4 separate regions of the Homo sapiens genome follow, and regions 2, 3 and 4 are each linked to region 1. The links are contacts of gene promoters, found by promoter capture Hi-C in human tissues and cell types (Jung and others, 2019). All regions are on one chromosome and are shown on one strand. The core of a region is centred on a gene start or on the middle of the fragment in contact, and the rest is flanking DNA. Distances in the headings are between cores, read along the strand shown. Region 1 holds the start of ZDHHC14 (zDHHC palmitoyltransferase 14). Region 2 overlaps SYNJ2 (synaptojanin 2). Region 3 has its middle 25 kb from the start of SYNJ2. Region 4 overlaps SNX9 (sorting nexin 9).

Region 1 (3,341 bases), core at 244-2,743:
GCTATTCCCATCACTTTTTCCTTACCACAGCTCCTCCCAACTGGCCCTCTTGGATAAGCCAATCTCATCCCCCTTCGACACTCCTCACTGAGGCACGCTTTGTAAGGGACATACTTAGGGCTCTGGGTTCGATGCCATCTCTACTACTTGGGAGCTTTGTGATGTTTGGCCAGTAGTTAAGCTTTCTCTAAGCTGGATACAATAATGCCTCACCGGGTTCCGGCGAAGATTAGACAAAGAACATGTGTAACGTGCAAACTGCCCAGTACAGAGAAGGCACCGTTCCCCACAACCCCCTTTGTTGGTTCCCATCTCCCACCACCTAGCCCCAGAACGCCCAGCACCACGCCTCTCCTGCCCTTGTCGCGGGGGATGCAGGGACTTGTAGTTTCTAAGGCCCCGAGTCGTGCTTCTCCTCGGCGCAGGCCTGCGGGCGGAAGAACTACACATCCCAGTGGGCTGTGAAAGGAAAGTGGGGCTCGGGAAATTGAGCATCCCTGCCCAGCTGCCTTCGTTTTCTGCGGCCCCGGGGCTATGCCCACCTCTGCGGGGGCTCGGACCCGCGGCAACGCCTGGGAGGGCGCGAGCGAGCAGAAGCCCCAGGCTCCGGCCGTCCCAGGGCCGCGCCCGCAGCTCCTCCTGGGCTGTCGGGTGGGAAGGGGGGAGGCGCAGGCGGGAGAGGAGAAGCACGCGACCCCTCCGCTGCCGAGGGGGCTCCACGGGGGAATGGAGGGAGAAATAAAGCGAGCAGCTGTAAACGTCCGTGGGGAGAAGTGGAGACCGAAAGAGCTGGGCGGCAGCAACCCAAAACCTGGCCTCCAAGGGCTTATACTCCGGGAGGGAGGCCGGGGCCGGAGGGGACCCTGACCGCTTCCTCTGCCCTTCTTTCTCGGCCCGGAAGCCGGCCGAGCCGGGCCCCGAGACCCTCGCCCGCAGCCCGGTCCCGAAGTCAGGCCGGCCTAGGGCCGCCCCACCCCATCCTGGCACCCGGCACCCCCAGCCCATTTCTCGGGCATCACCAGAGTCCCCGGGCGACGCGACCACGCGCCCAGCTGGGGAGGAGGAAGAAGGGAGGCGCAGGCCGGGGAGGGTCACCTCCGCGCCGCGGCTCCTCAGGTCCCGGGGAGTCGCCAGGAGTGGCTTGCCGGTGGCCGTGGGAATGAGCGTGTCCCGAGGCGGCAGCTGCTGCGCGGGATAAACCCGGAAGAAGCCGCGAGACGGACTGAAGTCGGCCAGGAGCGCACTGCGCGGCGGGGCCGCGGGCGCCCGACCCCATCCCTACTTGGGCGATGCCACAGGGAGCCCCGCGCCTTCCACACCCCAGGGCGCCCGCCCGAGGGGGCTGGGGCTGGAATCTCGCTGCGCCGGTGCCCTGGCTTCGCGGGCGAGGAGGAGGAGGAGCAGGAGGAGGAGCCGCGGGTGAGGCGCGAGGCCACCGCCCACCCGGCCCGGAGGAGGCGGACCCACTCGGAGCGCCGCGCGCGCGCCGGGCTGAGCCTTGCAAACAAGTGTCTGTGCTGTGTCCCCGCGGCCCTCCTCGCGCCGGGGCCGCTTCCTCCGGGTAGGAGGGAGCAAGGGAGCCCTCGCCGCGCGGCCCGCGAGCCGCCGCCGCCCTCGGCCCGCGCATCCCCGCGCGGGGGCCGCGGATTCGACTAGGCTGCCAGGCGCAGCGACACCGGGTCGCGGTGCGAGCGGCGCCCCGGCTCTCGCCGAGAGGCTCCTGACAGAAAAACGTGCGTGGTTGTCCCCACCCCTGGGAGGGGTTGCCGGTGCCGCGCGCGGCCGCCCAGTCGCCAGCGCTCTCTCCTGGGAGGATCCGCTGCCGGAGGAAGGAGTGGACCCAACCTGGCCGCGCCGCAGAAGTGGCTCCCGAGGAAGCCGGCGCCGGGGCCGCCGCCTCGTGTCCCCTCGGGGCGCAGTGCTCGGGGGTCGGCGGGCCAGAGCCGAGGCGCGGCCGGGGAGCCGGGGGCTGCGGGGCCGAGCGGGCAGCCGCGCGAGGGGGCGGGCGCTCGGCGACCCGGGGGCCGGCCGGGCTGAGCCCCGCGCCCCGGGACGCGGGCTGGAAGCGACGGAGGAGTGCTGCCGCGGGCTGCGGACCAGCGCCGTCCCCTCACGGAGCGGGGATTCTGCTATGACAGTTGGGCTCCCCGGAGGGTTAACCTGGGTGTCCTCGGCAAAGTTGTCGCCGAGCCGGGAGCCCGTGTAGGGGCCGCGGCGCCGCGGCTCGGGGGGCGGCCGGGCGGCCGGCGGCGGTCGTGGCTCGGCGGGGCCCGCGCGGCCGGGGGGCTCCTGGGGGTGTGCGCCCCCAGCCGGCTGCCCTCGTGGATGCCTCCCGGCGGCGGCGGGCCCATGAAAGACTGCGAGTACAGCCAGATCAGCACCCACAGCTCCTCCCCCATGGAGTCGCCCCACAAGAAGAAGAAAATCGCGGCCCGGAGGAAATGGGAGGTGTTCCCGGGAAGAAACAAGTTCTTCTGTAACGGGAGGATCATGATGGCCCGGCAGACGGGCGTCTTCTACCTGACGCTCGTCCTCATCCTGGTCACTAGCGGACTCTTCTTCGCCTTCGAGTAAGTGGTGGCGACCGCTCCCCCGACGCCGCACTCCCCTGGTCTCCCCTGTCCCCCGCCCCTCCTCGGGCTGCTTTCGTTTTCTAGAAGTCTTATCTACTGTAAATTGTTATATAATGCCAGTCTGCGCTCCCTCTTTTTTCTTTTAAAGGTCTGATTGCTTTTGGGCCCCCGGAAAGAACGCCGTTCTGGGCTGGGCTTCTGGGAGCAGGGAGGGAAGGGGTCCACTTGCAAGGGGGGCCAGGCCTTGCCAATCCAGGTGGCGGATGGGACCCAGCAGGTGGGGCCGCCGGTCCCTGATCCTTGGGGCGCTCTCTACCGAGTTTGGGGACCCAGCAAATCAGCCCAGATGTAGCCTGCCGTGGGAAGGTGGGGTGCGATAGATTCCTAAGTCAGGGATACATGGAACTGACTTTTTCCCCCTTGCTGACAACATATAGGGCATCTTCTTAAGCTCAGTTGACTGAATCTCCCATGTAACTTCGACGAATAATTGAGGAATCTTGGCTATTTCAGGTTTCAAAGTGTCGGCTGCCTAGTGTGCCCTGGATAGATCATTGCATTCTCCAGCCTCCTACATGCTCACTCTGGATTAACAATTTCTTATTTGCCATGAGGTTTCTAAACTCTTCACTTTCAAAAAGGTTGCAATAAAAGGTGTCCAAAACAAACAATTTGGGAACATGTGAAAGGAGACCTTAGGTCTGTTAAGGAAGAGGATGACACTACGTGACAACTTCCGATTCCAGAAACAGTCTGGACTTCAGGGAT
Region 2 (3,341 bases), core at 329-2,828, 630 kb after region 1:
GATGAATGGCTGTTTTCCTAGTAAGTCTCCTCGCTGTTTGCCAGGTCCTTAAACCATGTTCAGTGGATCCTCATTATTTGTGGATTCCATATTTGTAAATTCATCTGCTCTCTAAAATTTGTTTGTCACCCCAAGATCAGAACTCATAGACACCAGCAGAGTGGCAAAAATGTGTTACCCGATGAGCCTTTTCCCAGCTGAAAAGGATGCTCTGCCATCTTGTTTCAGCCTCTTGGTGTAAACGAGTGTGGTTTTCATGATTTGTTTAGTGCCATGTTTTCCATGTTTTGTGCTTTTTCTTCGTGGTTTCACTGTTTGAAAGTGCTGTCTAGTGTTTCCAAGTGCAAGAAGGCAGTGATGTGCCTTATGGGGAAAATATGTGTGTTTGATAAACTGTATTCAGGTTTGTGTTCTAGTGCCACTGGTTGAGTGTTAACGAATCAACACTGTACAGATGATTCCTGACTTACGATGGTTCCTTCCAGTATGATTTTTCAACTTAACAACGGTGTGAAAGTGATATGCATTCAGTAGAAACCATCTTTCAAATACCCATGGGACCATTCTGTTTTTCACTTTCTGTTCAATAGTCTATACATTTCATAAGATATTCAACACTCTTTCAGAAAGTAGGCTTTGTATTTCATGATTTCGCCCAGCTGTAGGCTAACATGTGTTCTGGATAGGTGGAAGGCAAGCTGAGACATACCTCTATGGTGTTTGGTAGGTTAGGTGTATTGAATGCATTGTCAACTTAGGATATTTTCAACCTATCCTGGGTTTATCAGGACATGACCCCATTGTAAGTTGAGGACCATCTGTTTATTCAGTAAGGTGTCTTTTAAATAGAAAAACACATAAAACAAGGTTAGTATTGATTGATTGACAAAAATGTTGCAACCTGAGGCTTTCAGGAACCTAACTCTGCATTTCCTTTAGGAGTGCTGCTTGCTTCAGTATCTGCTGGTAACTCTATGGAACATAGCTACTGTGAATAATGGGAATTGGGTGTATTTTCAAGTTGTTGGCCTCTCCAGCTACGCTGGTAATCAGTCCTGCTCTTTAAATCACATCTTACCATCAGTCCTGCCTAGAGAAATGGAGGAAGGGAGGTCTCTGGTCTTACGGTCTGTCCCGACTCTCTGCCCCACCAGCTATGTCCCGAGAACCAGCCTGGACAGAGCCATCTGATTGGTGGGTGGTAGCAGGTCATGTTGTGAGGCCCTGGTGCCTGCCTTCTGTCCTCCTGTGCTCGCTAGAGGAGCATGAGGCAGGAGCAGCCAGTCCATGCTGGTTCCTGAGCGAGGCAGCTCTAGGGCTGCCAGCACCCACTCCTGGGGGGCTGAGGGTAGGAAGAGCTTCAGAGGGGAGGATGGGACTGTCTGACTATATTTCCAATCCCAGTTGGGACTTGTGGTCTGATGAGGACAAGTGCCTTTGAGGGGGATGGGGATGGTTGAGAGGAACCAGGAAATCAAATGTGTCCTGGAAAACATGGCATGGTGGATCTTTTGAGTTGGGGTGTTGGGATGTGTGTCAGCTAAAACAAGGTTCACCTGCTTCAAATGTTCATCCAAGCTTTCTACACTTGCCTCTCTGAGTCAACATCTTTAGAGACAGCAGGAAGTGATGAAAGTCAGTTCACAGTCCATCTGCTCTGAGGGCTTGGTATGAGGGGCTGATGTTTTCTGTCATTTTCTCCTTTCTAACATTTCACTTTGGGATCTTAGTTCCTGGTTGAAATTCCTTAACTGTGGGAGTCGAGGCAGCCTAAGAATCCTTTTCGGCTGCTTAAGACAATGAGGTAGAGAGGGAACCAGCTGCCCCTTTTCTTACCTCCATGATGATGTAGAAATGGTTCCATCCAGCCCAAGGGTTCTTCTGGGGCCCAAAGCTCCTTAAGGGCTCTGTGCATAGGATTTGAGGATTAGTTTTCTTGGGTGGGGAGAAAAGTCCATCTTTATTTGTATAAATCCTACCTGAAATGCAGCATTTCCTCTAATTAGGAAGGCAGGCAACAAAACCAGTATGTTAGCTATGTCTGTGACTCTGTCACCAATGTGGGTTAGCCGTATCTCTGACCCTGTCACCAATTGCAATTACAGATGTCTCCACATCACATTAGTGTTGTTTCAGATATCTTGAAGTAGCATTTGTTCCCATTACTAGTTTTAAATTAAGGTGGTTAATAGACCCCACTGGATTTTGCGATTTAATATGCTGATAAGGCACATATATTGCTATACTATAACATTTTTTAAAAATTTTGATAACTAGATTTCAATAAGATTGGTATTTGTGATCATATTTATTTTCTTGATTTTTATAACAGCTTTATTGAGATATAATTTCTGTACCATACAACTCATTAAAGTGTACAACTCCATGTTTCTAAAATATATTTTCAGGATTGTACAACCATCACCACCACCATCACCATAATCTAATTTTAGAATATTTTTGTCCCCCTTAAAAGAAGCTTCGTACTCATTAGCAATTATCTACATTCCCCCTTTCCCCACTCTCAGCCCCTGGCAACCACAACATCTACTTTCTGTCTCTAGAAATGTGCCTGTTCTGGACGTTTCATAGAAATGGAATCTTGTTTTTGAGACAGAGTCTCACTCTGTCACCCAGGCTGGAGTGCAGTGGCGTAATTTCGGCTCACTGCAACCTCCACCTCCTGGGTTCAAGCCATCCCCCTGCCTCAGCCTCCCGAGTAGCTGGGATTACAGGCGTGTGCCACCACGCCCAGCTAATTTTTGTATTTTTAGTAGAGATAGGGTTCCGCCACGTTGCCCAGGCTGGTCTCGAACTTCTGACCTCAGGTGATCCGCCTGCCTTCGCCTCCCAAAGTGCTGGGGTTACAGGTTACAAAGTAAGCCACTGTGCCCGGCCAAAATGGAATCTTTCTGAGGTCTTTTGTGACTGGCTTTTTTCATGTAGCATAATGTTTTCAAGGTTCATCTATCTTTGTATTTTGTTCTGTGCACTTAAAACATTATTCTGAGAAGGGGTCTAAAGGCCTGCCCCGTCGTCACCAGAAGGGCCTGTGGCATCATTGGAGAGGTTAGGGCTCTCCCTAACCATTAGGGCTCCCTGCGCCTAATGGTTCTTCCCTCTGTCAGTTTTGCATTAAAACTAGTACATGCCTTGGCTTGAGCATGGACAATCACTGCCAAAGACCCGGCAGGCAAGGCACGCAGCTTTCCTTGGGATGGGTTGGACCCAGGCCCTGGGCACTCAGAGGTACTCAGGCACCTCTGCCCAGTCTCCCCAAGTTACCACCTCCACAGGTGCCTTGGAGTGAGTGGGCATCTCCAGGATGTAGCCTCTAGTGG
Region 3 (3,341 bases), core at 584-3,083, 580 kb after region 1:
AAAATGAAAAAGAATTTTTAAAAGACCATTTACAACCACCAGTGGAATCGTTATTTCTGCAGGAGTCATTAATTGATGCTTAAACAATTAGGCAAAAGTTCATTTCAAGGTGCCATCGTATGAGCCCACAGATTACTTGTGAATTACAAAGGGAAAAAATGTACTTTTACATTGCAGAGTTCCTGCCCTGCCACACATGCATGTGGAGGATAGTAGTGCAGTTGTACAACAGTGCCTTTGTACTGCTCTAATTTTTTTTTTTTTTCTGAGGCTGAGTCTCCCTCTGTCATCCAGGCTGGAACGTAATGGTGTGATCTTGACTCACTGCAACCTCCGCCTCCCGGGTTCAAGCAATTCTCCTGCCTCAGCCTCCCAAGCAGCTAGGATTACAGGGGCCCGCCACCATGCCTGGCTAATTTTTGTGTTCTTAGTAGAGACAGGGTGTCATCATGTTGGCCAGGCTGGTCTCAAACTTCTGACCTCAGGTGATCTGCTCACCTTGGCCTCCCAAAGTGCTAAGACTACAGGCATGAGCCACCACACCCGGCCTGTACCACTCTAATTTAGTGATTCAACTGAACCTCCTGACACGGGTGCCTCCTCGTGCCCCCTCTGAAACATGCGTGCACTTATCTATGTGCCATGCAAATGGAGTACGTGAGCACCCAGGGACCCTCGATAGATTACCTGGTGCCAAGCGTATTCTTCCCTGCCCCTGTCTTGGAAAAGCAGCCCTACGAATGACAGCCTCCTGACAACTGGTCAGTTTTCCAACAGGATGGTGACTCCCCTCCTTGCCTTCTGCTTTCTTGAATCAAGGGCCTGAAGAGGCCAAGCAAGGTGGCTGATGCCTGTAATCCCAGTGCTTTGGGAAGCCGAAGCAGGAGGATCACTTGAGGCCAGGAGCTTGAAACCAGCCTGGGCAACATAGCAAGATTCTGACTCTACGAAAACATTTAAAACTTCGCCAGGCATGGTGGCGCATGCCTGTAGTCCCAGCTACTTGGGAGGCTGAGGCAGGGGGAATGGCTCAAGCTTAGGGGTTCAAGGCTGCAGTGAGCTATGATTACACCACTGCACTCCAGGCTGGGTAGCAGAGTGAGACCCTGTCTCTAAAAAATAAAAAAAATTAATAAAAAAGAGCTGAAGAGACCAAGCAGCAGCCAGGGCTTAAAGCTTTGAGGGGCTCTTGTGCCTCTGGGTGGAAGCATTTCACTGTTATAGTCATTTCCATTATAGAGGGTAAAGTCTTCACTGTTTCCTTCCTACATACAATTTATTTATATTTGTTTGTTCCTGAACTGGAGTCGTAAAGCACCCAATTATTGTTAGACGGTTTATATTTAATGTGATTATCAACATGGCTGGGTTTAAATCCATTATCTTGCCATTGGTCTCTTATTTGTTCAATCTGTTCTTCATTCCTTTTTTTCCCTCTTTTGAATTGAGTACTTTTTATGATTTTATTTTACCTCCAATAAAACCTCCCTTTTCCCTCTTTGCTATATGTATTTAACTTATCATCGTCTATTTTTAAATAATAGTGCCACCTCATACACAGCTTATGAACCTTACAATATGTTACTTCCATTTTCCCCTCTTGTACCTTATTGTTGTCATATATTTTATTCTACATATACTATAAACTCAAAAATACACTGTTAATATTTTTGCTTTAAACAGTTAATTTTTTTTTTTTTTTGAGATGGAGTCTTGCTTTGTTGCCCAGGCTGGAGTGCAGTGGCGCAATCTCGGCTCACTGCAAGCTCCACCTCCCGGGTTCATGCCATTCTCCTGCCTCAGCCTCCCGAGTAGCTGGGACTACAGGTGCTCGCCACTACACCTGGCTAATGTTTTGTATTTTTTATTAGAGACGGGGTTTCACCGTGTTAGCCAGGATGGTCTCCATCTTGTCTCCATCTCCTGACCTTGTGATCCGCCCGCCTCGGCCTCCCAAAGTGCTGGGATTACAGGTATGAGCCACTGCGCCTGGCCACAGTTAATTATCTTTTAAAGAGTATTTTCAATTATAAAAAAGTCTTTTACATTTACTGATGTGTTTATCATTTCGAATCCTTGTGTACATCCAAATTTCCCTCTAGTGCCATTTTCCTTCTACCTGAGGAGTGTCCTGTAACATTTCTTGGAATGTAGGTTCCCTAGTTAATTAATTCTCTCAGTTTCTGTTTGTCTGAAAAGCTGATTTTGAAAGAAATTTTATGCAGGATAGAATTCTGGATTGATTGCTTTCTTTTTCTTTTCAGTACTTTTTTTGAGACAGGGTCTGGCTCTGGCACCCAAGCTGCAGTGCAGTGGTGTGATCATGGCTCACTGCAGCCTCAAGCTCCCGGGCTCAAGTAATTCTCTCACCTCAGCCTCCCAAGTAGCTAGGACCACAGGCCCATGCCACCACACCTGGCTAATCTTTTTTAAAATTATTTTTAGCAGACAAGAGGTCTTGCTATGTTGCCCAGGCTGGTCTCAAACTCCTGATCCTCCCGTCTCGGCCTCCCAAATTGCTGGGATTACAGGCGTGAGCCTCCACACCTGGCCTCCTTTCAGTACTTTAAGGATGTCACTCTATTGTCTCCTGGCTTGCATAGTTTCTGATGACAAATCTGCCATCACTCTTACCTTGCTCGTTTGTAAGCAATGGGTTTTTTTTTCCCTGACCTGCTTTTTTTTTTTTTTTTTGAGACGGAGTCTCGCTCTGTCACCCAGGCTGGAGTGCAGCAGTGCAATCTCCACTCACTGCAAGCTCTGCCTCCTGGGTTCACGCCATTCTCCTGCCTCAGCCTCCCAAGTAGCTGGGATTACAGGTGCCCACCACCACACCCGGCTAATTTTTTGTATTTTCAGTAGAGACAGGGTTTCACCACGTTAGCCAAGATGGTCTCAATCTCCAGACCTCATGATACGCCCACTTTGGCCTCCCAAAGTGCTGGGATTACAGGCGTGAGCCACTGTGCCTGGCCTTCCCTGACCTGCTTTAAAGATTTTCTCTTTGTCACTAGTTTCCGGCAATTTGATTATCATGTGCCTTAATATAGTTTTCTCCATGCACCTTCTGCTTTGGTTTGGTTAAGGTTCTTGGATCTATGGCTATAAAGTTTTCATTAAATGTGAAAAAATGTTGGCCCTATTTCTTCAAATATTCTTCCTTTCTCCCTCCTTTATTTCTGAAACTGCAGAGATATACATGTTAAACCACTTGATCTTGTCCACAGATCACTGGATTCTCTGTTAATTTGTTTTCTCAATGGGCTTCATTTTTGGACAGTTGCTATTGCTATGTCTTCAAGCTCACTGATGTCTTCTTCTGCAGCATCTCTCTGCTGTTA
Region 4 (3,341 bases), core at 222-2,721, 530 kb after region 1:
GCTACTCACGTGGGAGCAGAAGGGTTTCCCACAGGTGTGTTCTTTAAACATAATATCTAACAGGAACAGAAACCATTGAACCATTTATGTACCTTTCAAAGAGGAACAAGAATGACCCTCCAAAGGACTTCTCATTCTGAAAAGAATTACTTGCTGATTCACATCAATTGTATTTATTATTTTTCCATGTAACAAAATTACTTCTTTCTGGAACATTGGCATAGGTTGGAGATTATGGCCCAATGTGGGTTTATCCTACCTCTACTTTTGACTGTGTGGTAGCAGATCCCAGGAAAGGCTCCAAAATGTATGGTCTAAAGAGCTACATCGAATATCAGCTAACACCTACTGTAAGTATCCACGTTATCAAAAGCAGAATCATGTTTGGATCACTGATTGCAGCTTGCTTTTTTCTTCATTTTCTAGAGTTGGCATTGGTAACCTTTTCTCTTTCCCTTATTTTGTAGAACACTAATCGATCTGTAAACCACAGGTATAAGCACTTTGACTGGTTATATGAGCGTCTCCTGGTTAAGTTTGGGTCAGCCATTCCAATCCCTTCTCTTCCAGACAAACAAGTCACAGGTGAGTGTGTGTAATGCTAAACCCAGGATGACAAATAGAAAGACTCCAGTCAGATTATCTTCCTGTAAGTCAGTGATGGCATTTTCCATCCTGTAGAGCAGCAGGATGCAGGAGTTGGAAACAGTAATTAAATACAGCTATGAAGAGAGAACCATTGCATGTTGTACATCTATCTGGAAGTTGCCTAAACGTCTCACAAGAACGTTTAATGTGCAAATCACAGGTTTTGGTATGTGTCTGGAATTCCAGCAGTCATTGTCTTCATTGCTGTACCTTTTCTACAAAAGAAATGTGTACATTTAAAATATGTGAAAAATGACACCTGAAAAAATAGAAATAATTCAAATAGCCTAAAATGGAAATAAAAATGTATGACCCACATGATGCAAACAGGTTATGCAGATGAGCTGCATTATTTCATTAGATGAGTGAGCACTGGACAGAGAAGCCACAGAACTACTAAGTGTTAATGAAGGAAGAAGCTGCCAGGTTTTCTACTTATTTTGATTATTACCCTCTCCCTTTTCTTGTTTTTTAAAAGTGCCATTTTCTATTTATTTTGATTATTACCCTCTCCCTTCTCTTGTTTTTTAAGTGCCACATTCCCTCCCCTCCCCCAGCCCCAAGAATCTTTTGGTAAGTAACCCATAGTGTTACTAGAGCACCTTGTAAGTATGCAGGGCACCTTGTAAGTATGCAGGTAGAAAGGGTTTGTTTTTGTGTCAGGGAATTGTTTTTGTTTTTAATCTCCAGCCTAGGGTAGACTCTGCTACTCTATGTAGTCACTGAGGGACTCAGCATGTGTGTGTTAAAATAAAGGTTGTGTGCCAGGTGCAGTGGCATCCCAGCACTTTGGGAGGCCGAGGCGGGCGGATCACGAGGTCAGGAGATCGAGACCATCCAGGCTAACACGGTGTAACCCTGTCTCTACTAAAAAATTAGCCCGGTGTGGTGGTGTGCACCTGTAGTCTCAGCTCCTAGGGAGGCTGAGGCAGGAGAATGGCATGAACCCGGGAGGCAGAGGTTGCGGTGAGCCGAGATTGCGCCACCGCACTCCAGCCCAGGCGACAGAGCGAGACTCTGTCTCAAATAAATAAATAAATAAATAAATAAATAAATGTTGTGAAGAAACAGACTTAAAGGTTAGACAGAGTTTTAGTATATTGCTAGAAAATGTTCACATACATGAACTAGTGAAAATAGAAAGGAGTGGATTGTGAGAGGAGGTCTTCAAAGGTCAGAGCCAGAGAGGCCTGTAAGAGATGTAAAAGAGACACTGAGATGCTCACCTGAACCTAGGGAGAAGAAACATGGAGGGCTGAAGGAAGGGTTCTTTCCCCAAAGGTCAGGGAAGACAAGAGGCGGTGGAATTCTCACTGCACTCGCAAGAGTCGAGAGAAACAGTTCAGGGAGGGCCTGCGACCCTTCACAGCCAGGTGGCAGTGCCAGATGGAAACATGTCAGCACTGCCGTGGAGTTTGTCCCACGTGTTCCTGGACACTTCCCGAGTGCCTCTCATCTGTCCTCACAGATAGGCATTTTCATCTTCACTTTATAGATGAGGAAACGGAAATCCACAGACATTAAACAGGTTCCCCTCTCTATTGCTGAAAAAGGAATTCGAATCTGATCCCATAGCTTACTCTGTTTCTGTTAAGATGTGGACTGACTAATCTTTCCCTAGAATTAGTATTCATACAATGAGTAAATTATTCTCCTTAAAACATTACTTTATATTTTACTTTGTTTTATGTTTATTTTTCCCTGAAGTGTTTTGTGGAGATGGAAACTTTTGTTTTAAAAGAAGTTTTGATTTTGATTTTTTTGGAACACATTTCAAAAATTTCAAATTGTCATAGCAAAATTGAAAATGGGGCTGCACTACTGGGTAGATAAACACATCTCCCCAGTCCCCTGGGTGACACTTGAGTGGTCCCTCGTGGTGCTGGGGCGGTGGAGTGACAGCCAGATGGCCGTGGGCTGCTGCTGCCTTCTGCCCAGAGGCACTGACCGAACCCCTGCTTCTAACCCAGTTCAGACACTCCCTGTACCTCAACCCGGTTCAGACACTCCCTGTACCTCCTTTTTGTCATCCTTATTGCTTTCAATCACAGTTTTCTCTTAAAAAATACAGATTTCTTTCCATGAAAACTTCAGTTCTGCCATATAAAATTATAGTCTATTTCCTTGAATTTTGTGCTCTCCTTTATCAACTTGGTTAGCACAGTGTGTGCTCCACAGTGTTTAAATCCATGGCTTAATGGCCTATTTCAGGCTTGTAAGAAATTCTCATATCTTTTAGATTTTAATACATTGTTTATTCTGAATCAGATAATTCAGTGCTCTTTTAAAGCTTCAGAGAGTCACGGTTCTCCTTCCATACTAAGATTTGTTTAAAAAAAAATAAGTTCGGCATGCAGCCAGGGAGGAGAAAGTCATAGAAAAGCAAGAAAGCAGCAGCCCCTCGGTGTGAAGAAAGTTGAGCTTTGATTCACTAACTGGGATATGAGCCAAGGAAGCCGAACAGCACAGAAGGGCTCTATTTCCCCCTCACTTGTGTGCCTCCTGCCTGGGATGCCCACAGATCATTATTATGTAAGAATTCCCCTCTCGCTCAACTACTGGAGAAAAGAAAAAGGAATGCTTAGTAGGTGATGCTATGACATTCCTGTGGACTCGATAATTCATGAAAAAATGTACAGTTAACATTTCTTTATTTGTTTAGAGATTTTTGTTTTTTATGGAAATAATATTGA

The links. The method cuts DNA at HindIII sites, captures the fragments that hold promoters and counts their contacts. A contact is called where the count stands out against the background at its distance.
Region 2: a fragment that was not itself captured here is called in contact with the fragment with the promoter of ZDHHC14 in region 1 in 2 of the 25 tissues and cell types used here (H1 embryonic stem cells and dorsolateral prefrontal cortex).
Region 3: a fragment that was not itself captured here is called in contact with the fragment with the promoter of ZDHHC14 in region 1 in 2 of the 25 tissues and cell types used here (dorsolateral prefrontal cortex and hippocampus).
Region 4: a fragment that was not itself captured here is called in contact with the fragment with the promoter of ZDHHC14 in region 1 in 1 of the 25 tissues and cell types used here (dorsolateral prefrontal cortex).

What each region holds. Positions count from the first base shown.
Region 1 is chr6:157,379,697-157,383,037 of GRCh38, forward strand. It overlaps ZDHHC14 (zDHHC palmitoyltransferase 14), which reads left to right and starts at 1,494. Exons shown (of 9, transcript NM_024630.3): 1 at 1,494-2,570. The coding sequence starts at 2,326. It overlaps LOC124901446, which reads right to left and starts at 1,395. Exons shown (of 1, transcript XM_047419644.1): 1 at 1-1,395. The coding sequence starts at 1,005. The coding sequence ends at 115. RefSeq lists enhancers at 1-430, 1,042-1,653, 2,412-2,551 and silencers at 632-711, 872-1,761, 2,272-2,321. The HindIII fragment of the contact is 9,861 bases long and covers 1-3,341 here.
Region 2 is chr6:158,013,522-158,016,862 of GRCh38, forward strand. All of the region lies in intron 1 of SYNJ2 (synaptojanin 2), which reads left to right. Among named protein-coding and RNA genes, the nearest start is that of SYNJ2-IT1, 14 kb to the left of the region's middle. The HindIII fragment of the contact is 4,582 bases long and covers 1-3,341 here.
Region 3 is chr6:157,955,639-157,958,979 of GRCh38, forward strand. No RefSeq gene overlaps it. Among named protein-coding and RNA genes, the nearest start is that of SYNJ2, 25 kb to the right of the region's middle. The HindIII fragment of the contact is 3,731 bases long and covers 1-3,341 here.
Region 4 is chr6:157,909,441-157,912,781 of GRCh38, forward strand. It overlaps SNX9 (sorting nexin 9), which reads left to right. Exons shown (of 18, transcript NM_016224.5): 8 at 225-350; 9 at 468-585. Among named protein-coding and RNA genes, the nearest start is that of SNX9-AS1, 18 kb to the left of the region's middle. The HindIII fragment of the contact is 3,504 bases long and covers 1-3,223 here.